Linked DNA regions of Homo sapiens: region 1 is linked to region 2. Evidence: promoter capture Hi-C in human tissues and cell types (Jung and others, 2019). All regions are on one chromosome and are shown on one strand. The core of a region is centred on a gene start or on the middle of the fragment in contact, and the rest is flanking DNA. Distances in the headings are between cores, read along the strand shown.

Evidence for each region. The method cuts DNA at HindIII sites, captures the fragments that hold promoters and counts their contacts. A contact is called where the count stands out against the background at its distance.
Region 1: the fragment with the promoter of TAF6 here is called in contact with the fragment with the promoter of PVRIG in region 2 in 5 of the 25 tissues and cell types used here (IMR-90 fibroblasts, liver, mesenchymal stem cells and 2 more).

What each region holds. Positions count from the first base shown.
Region 1 is chr7:100,117,609-100,121,156 of GRCh38, forward strand. It overlaps TAF6 (TATA-box binding protein associated factor 6), which reads right to left and starts at 1,750. Exons shown (of 15, transcript NM_139315.3): 1 at 1,596-1,750. It overlaps CNPY4 (canopy FGF signaling regulator 4), which reads left to right and starts at 2,026. Exons shown (of 6, transcript NM_152755.2): 1 at 2,026-2,254. The coding sequence starts at 2,137. RefSeq lists enhancers at 1,703-1,852, 2,063-2,282, 2,653-2,722. The HindIII fragment of the contact is 13,440 bases long and covers 1-3,548 here.
Region 2 is chr7:100,218,326-100,221,806 of GRCh38, forward strand. PVRIG (PVR related immunoglobulin domain containing) reads left to right here and starts at 1,624. Exons shown (of 5, transcript NM_001397246.1): 1 at 1,624-1,703; 2 at 1,789-2,139; 3 at 2,222-2,348; 4 at 2,435-2,495; 5 at 2,603-3,165. The coding sequence starts at 1,646. The coding sequence ends at 2,926. It also overlaps a transcript of STAG3 not described here and the pseudogene CASTOR3P. RefSeq lists enhancers at 1,514-1,643, 1,704-1,773, 3,164-3,263, 3,284-3,383 and a silencer at 2,694-2,743. The HindIII fragment of the contact is 32,066 bases long and covers 1-3,481 here.

The sequences.
Region 1 (3,548 bases), core at 500-2,999, 100 kb before region 2:
GAGCCCAGCCTGGGACATCATAAATATTTGTGAAGTAAATGAATTAGTTGTAAGGCTTAGAGATATTGGTGCTCAGTAAATACTTGGTATCACTATTATTAATAGGTCATAGGCCCAAGCTTTGAGCCTACACTGTAGTTAAAAGCAAACTGGGCCGGCCGTGGTGGCTCACGCCTGTAATCCCAGCACTTTGGGAGGCCGAGGCGGGCGGATCACTAGGTCAGGAGATTGAGACCATCCTGGCTAACAAGGTGAAACCTCGTCTCTACTAAAAAATAGAAAAAATTAGCCAGGCATGGTGGCAGGCACCTATAGTCCCTGCTACTCGGGAGGCTGCTGAGGCAGGAGAATGGCGTGAGCCCGGGAGGCGGAGCTTGCAGTGAGCCGAGATCGCACCACTGCACTCCAGCCTGGGCAACAGAGCCAGACTCTGTCTCAAAAAAAAAAAAAAAACAAAAAAAGCAAAGTGGAGCCAGGTGCAGTGGCTCACGCCTGTAATTTGGGAGGCCAAGGCGGGAAGATCACCTGAGGTTAGGAGTTCGAGACCACCCTGGCCAACATGGTGAAACCCTGTCTTTTTGTAAAAACACAAAAATTAACCAGACATGGTGGCGGGCGCCTGTAGTCCCAGCTATCTGGGAGGCTGAGGTGGGAGAACCGCTTGAACCAGGAAGCGGAGGTTGCAGTGAACCGAGATCGTGCCACTGCACTCCAGCCTGGGCGATAGAGAGAGACTCCATCTCAAAAAAAAAAAAAAAGCAAATTGGAGCCAAGAGAGGTAACTCACCCCAGTAATCCCAGCACTTTGGAAGGCAGAGGTGGGGGGATTGTTTGAGGCCAGGAGTTTGAGACAGCCTGGTCAACATAGTGAGACCCCCATTTCTGCAAAAATTAAAAAATTAGACGGACCTGGTGGTGTGAACCTGTCATCCCAGCTACTTAGGAGGCTGAGGCAGGAGGATCGCTTGAACTGAGGAGTTGGAGGCTGCAGTGAGCCAAGATGGTGCCACTGCACAACAGCCTGGGTAACAGACGGAAACCCTGTCTCAAAAAAAAAACAAAAAAAAATTAAAGTGGCACACTTGCAGTTGGACATTAGGAAGATTAACATATCAATACTGCTTAGGAGTAGTACAGGTAGGGTGGGGCCGTGCTGGAAGGATGGGAAGAGGGAGGCCGAAAAACAAATTGGTTCTTTTCAAACCATCCCTGATCTCCTCCCCGACTTTTATAAGTCTTATCTATAGGGAACACAACTATTCGAGACATACTCTGTGCCTGGCGCCGGGTTTACAAGAGGGGGTCGTGTCCCACTTCCCTGGCGAACTCCTACGAATCCTTCAATACCCGGCGGTACCCTCTGCCAGTAAAGGCTCATAAAACACGCTACAGTCACAGGATCTCCTCAGATCAGTGGAGGCGGCAGGAAGGCGTCCCAGGGAAGGGTTAACTTAAGCGAGATCCCAGCAGAGAAGCAGGTCGAAGATCCCCGGGCAGCGCGAAAGGAGGTTCAGAGAGCCCACCCCATCTCCTGCAACATCTCTCCAATGCAGGCACACACACGGGGTCCCCACGAGCACAGACACACAACCAACCGTCCTCTTTCCAGTCCCCACAAGGGACCTTCAAAGGGTCTCCTCCGGGGTACCACTCAGACCCGCCCCCGCCACCCGAGCGCGGGGAGCAGGAAAACTCTAGCGGCAGCCGAGACGCTGCTCACCCGGCGCTCGGCGCCATCTTGGCCCCGCCCCCTCGTGGGAGCAGGTCCTGGCAGAGCCTAAGAGCAAGTCACTGCCCCTTCCCCGTACCAGAATAAGTCCTCTAGGCTCGCAGAATGAAATTATATTTTAAAAGTTTGTTTCTACATCTATATATAAGGAGCACTCCCTCTTGGTGTAATTACTGCAATTTATTCCTTCACTACCCGGCTGCCAGGACCTTCAAGAGGCGCCACAAAACGGAGGCAGGGAAACCCGTAGCAACGAGGCCCCACCCTTGTTGGGCTGATCCTGCGCATGCGCCGACCTTCCTCGGCTGGATTTAAGGTTGCCGCTAGCCGCCTGGGAATTTAAGGGACCCACACTACCTTCCCGAAGTTGAAGGCAAGCGGTGATTGTTTGTAGACGGCGCTTTGTCATGGGACCTGTGCGGTTGGGAATATTGCTTTTCCTTTTTTTGGCCGTGCACGAGGCTTGGGCTGGGATGTTGAAGGAGGAGGACGATGACACAGAACGCTTGCCCAGCAAATGCGAAGGTATTTGAAGGGGGTAGCCCCTATAGGCATCGCCCGGCCACACCTCCTTCTTCTAGGCCGGACATCCTAGCCTGTATTGGGTGGGTCACCCGACCTCCTTGAAGGCTTGAGGGAGGTTCTGGTGGAGCTTGGCTGAATTTGGATGGGGTCAAGGAAGCGAACGTGTAGTGCCACCTCAAACTGCATCCAGAGAGAGCCTGCATTTTTTTGGCTGGCTTGGAACCCCCCGCCCGCCAATGGATTGTGGGAATTGTAGTTCAGGGACCATCGGCCCGGGACTGCCAACTTTTAGAGCATCTTCAGTGAGTGTTTACCTCATGTCACCAGACCTTAATCTGCAGAGGCTGCAGGAGCCGGGTGTGAGGCTCAGGCCTTGTGGACATCCGCTGCCCTACCCTAGCATAGACGCTCCCAAATTACAGGCCCCACACCCCGCTGAGGGGGTTTGAGGGTGAGTAATTCAGCCTTTGAAGCTCATAAACAAAAGGAAGCCACACAACTAGGAGAGTGTCCCCATCCGGTGAGACTTTGCAGACGGTGCGTACTATATGGATTTTTCAGCAAGCAGCGCCTTCCATAGCTGCACTAGCGTGGGGCCCAGTTGAGAAAGGGGGCTGGCCCTGATGCCCTAGTTTGCTGCCCTCCTGACTTTACGTTTCTTCCCTGGATTCCTTTTCTCTTCGCTTCACCCCCTCAACTGTATTCCAGTATCATGAAAGGCAGTCATGACAGTCTCATGACTTGGTCCTCATCTCTGTCTCCTTTCACCTCCGTGTGCCGCTCTTCTCCCCTGACCTGTCAATCTTTTTAAACAGACTTAATCACCTAATTGTATCAGTCCTTGCTTTAACACCTCTGCAGGCCTTCTATCAGAATACAGCCAACGGGCCTGGGCACAGTGGCTCACATCTGTAATCCCAGCACTTTGGAAGGCCAAGGTGGGAGGATCACTTGAGCCCATGAGTTCAGGCCCAGCTTCACCACAGCTTGTCATCCTTGGTTTATCTGTCCCAACTACACTGACAGAGACCTGTAGATAGAGATAATAGGTCTTATTGCTGTCTATATTGTTAGTATGCATACAGAAGGAGCTCAATAAATAACTGCAGGATAACAGTGAATACTTATACAGTGCTCACTATGTGCCAGCCTTTATATATGTTGATTTATTTAATCTTCATCACACTCCTATGAGGGACATACTATTATTATCCAATTGTATTAATTTTATATATATATATATATATATATATATTTTTTTTTTTTTTTTTTTTTTTTTTTTTTTTTTCTCTTT
Region 2 (3,481 bases), core at 374-2,873:
TATATATAATCATAGCTATAATCTATTTCTAGTATAACTATTCTTATTCTATGTATTTTCTTTATTATACTGGAACAGCTTGTGCCCTCGGTCTCTTGCCTTGGCAGCTGGGTGGCTTGCCTCCCACATGGCACTGCTGGGCATTGTCTGTTAATATTGAATAATTGTTTTAAGATTATTTTCAATAAGGCTTTACCTTTTTTAACTTGCACTGTGGCCATGAGCTCTGCTGGAAGTGACTTGTTGGTGTTATCTCCTCAGTTATAAAGTGAAGGGATTTTTCTTTTTCAGATTACTGAGAGTCTTCCGTTACTAGGTAAGTCACCGCATCCTTATAACTCCAGGTGACACTGACTGGGGTTTATGGGATGAAAGAGGAGTGTGTGCTTGGATGATGGGGTGTGATAGTGAAGGGGTGAAAGGTTTCTTCTCACACATAGACATCGTGAGGTCTTCCTTGAGCTCTTTAGAGCCTTCCCTCGGGATAGGATGAAATACTGAGATCCTAGAAAGGATTCACAAAACGTGTCACTCATCAGCGCAGATTCACCGATTCACCCCTAGATGTGTGTGGGATTTGGATGGCAGAGAGAAACAGGCACTGAAGATTTTTGGTCAGGACAGGGCAGAGAAATAAGAAGAGTTGAAAATTCACCAAAGGATAGATAAACCCAGGGCGTTTAGAGAAAACCTGTAGTGTGCAAAGGAGCCCAGAATCCTGGGGCAACTTGGAGGGAAATATACTTAATTTGATTCACTAAGTTAGGCCCAGTGAAGGGATTGGGTGGCATAGGTAGAAGCCGAAAAATAAAGTATCTTGTATTGCTGGAGTAGCCTCTGTTTCTGAGGTCACATCCAAACTTAGCGAGGCAGCTTAACCTGGTGAGAGACATGGGTTCAACTCCTGGCTTCTGCACTGCTAGGGCAGAGGACTGCTGTTTGCTGACACAATCTTGGTGCGTTGGAAGTGAAAGGGAAGAGGCACTGGTGGCTGTGCTTTGGGCCCGAGCAGCCAGAAGCCAGTTGCCATCACCTATGACGAGGAGACAGCGCCTGGGGCAGAGCCCAGTATGGGGTGCGTTCAGGGTAGATCAGGAGGTATGAGTGGGTAGTGGGCGAGCCAGGCTGGGGGTTGTGGGGGAGGCCTGCATTGCAGGTGTAAGCGTGGGACCCACATCAGATTGGTAGTGGGTCATGCATGCTGGGCTGGCTCTCAGGTCCTCCCTGCTGGCTTCCCACTCCCAGGGGCTTTCTCCTCCGATTCCTTAGCTGGGTGAGGGGCGGGACAGAGCCCTTTCTTAGGGAAGCCCGGCACCCCTTGCTGTCCAGGGAAGGGGAGTCCTTCTAGCCCCTGACAGCTTCTCTGCCCCTCCCCTGGCCTCCCCAGGCCTAGCCAGGGCTGGGTTCTCACCCACCTGTGCCGCCCTGCCTTGTTACCTGGAAGCACAGCCTTGGGGACTGAGCAGGCCCTCACTGTCACTTTAAGAAGGGAATCAGCCACTTTGTGCTCACCACCTCTGGGGAAGGTGTGAGAGGAGAGAAGGAAGTGGCTGTTTGGCTGCTGACAACATGAAGACTTCCTGCGATGAGAACAGAGGCACAGGTGCCGGCCCTGCAGCCCCCAGAACCTGGACTGGAGGGGGCCATGGGGCACCGGACCCTGGTCCTGCCCTGGGTGCTGCTGACCTTGTGTGTCACTGCGGGTGAGTGCCGGCACCAGAGAGGGGCAGGGGCTGCAGGGAGGGTGATGTAGGACAACAGCCCACCGACCTTGCTGCTGTTCCACAGGGACCCCGGAGGTGTGGGTTCAAGTTCGGATGGAGGCCACCGAGCTCTCGTCCTTCACCATCCGTTGTGGGTTCCTGGGGTCTGGCTCCATCTCCCTGGTGACTGTGAGCTGGGGGGGCCCCAACGGTGCTGGGGGGACCACGCTGGCTGTGTTGCACCCAGAACGTGGCATCCGGCAATGGGCCCCTGCTCGCCAGGCCCGCTGGGAAACCCAGAGCAGCATCTCTCTCATCCTGGAAGGCTCTGGGGCCAGCAGCCCCTGCGCCAACACCACCTTCTGCTGCAAGTTTGCGTCCTTCCCTGAGGGCTCCTGGGAGGCCTGTGGGAGCCTCCCGCCCAGCTCAGACCCAGGTGGGGCCGGGGCGAGGGGTCCAGGAGGGCAGGGAGGGGCTCGGGAACTGGCCACCCATCTGATTCTTGTCTCCGTGCCCAGGGCTCTCTGCCCCGCCGACTCCTGCCCCCATTCTGCGGGCAGACCTGGCCGGGATCTTGGGGGTCTCAGGAGTCCTCCTCTTTGGCTGTGTCTACCTCCTTCATCTGCTGCGCCGACATAAGCACCGGTGAGACCTGGTCCCTGTCCACGTCCCCCTGACACTGGGATGGCCACATGCCCTGCAGAGCTCTGACCATCCTTGCTCTCTCCCAGCCCTGCCCCTAGGCTCCAGCCGTCCCGCACCAGCCCCCAGGCACCGAGAGCACGAGCATGGGTGAGGAGGGGACCTGCTTTGGGGATGAGGTGACAGGGGCAGGGGCAGGGGGGCCAGGGCTGGGCCCAAGCTGTGCAGACTCACTTGACCCTCCTTCCCCCGCGCAGGCACCAAGCCAGGCCTCCCAGGCTGCTCTTCACGTCCCTTATGCCACTATCAACACCAGCTGCCGCCCAGCTACTTTGGACACAGCTCACCCCCATGGGGGGCCGTCCTGGTGGGCGTCACTCCCCACCCACGCTGCACACCGGCCCCAGGGCCCTGCCGCCTGGGCCTCCACACCCATCCCTGCACGTGGCAGCTTTGTCTCTGTTGAGAATGGACTCTACGCTCAGGCAGGGGAGAGGCCTCCTCACACTGGTCCCGGCCTCACTCTTTTCCCTGACCCTCGGGGGCCCAGGGCCATGGAAGGACCCTTAGGAGTTCGATGAGAGAGACCATGAGGCCACTGGGCTTTCCCCCTCCCAGGCCTCCTGGGTGTCACCCCCTTACTTTAATTCTTGGGCCTCCAATAAGTGTCCCATAGGTGTCTGGCCAGGCCCACCTGCTGCGGATGTGGTCTCTGTGTGTGCGTGTGTGGGCACAGGTGTGAGTGTGTGAGTGACAGTTACCCCATTTCAGTCATTTCCTGCTGCAACTAAGTCAGCAACACAGTTTCTCTGATGTCGGCCTCGGCTGTGCTTCTTCTTTGGGGGTGAAGAGAGTGGGGAGGCAGTCTCCACCCCTGGGAGGCAGAAGCCAGGTGAGAACCAGAGTGGGTTGGGGCCTCATTGCAGGGCTGGGGTTGGCCCAGGGAGAGGGCAGTGTCCCAATCTTAGAGATCTGTCCTGGCTTCTCAGAGTGGCAGGGGTGTTGGGGGAGCTTCCTGAGGGACACCTGTGGCTGCCTAGATAGGGCTGGGGGATCCCAGTGGGATGGTCTCTGCTCCAATCCCACCATGTTCTAGGACAACAGCAAGGGTTCCTGGGGCTTTGGCCTGAGAGAAG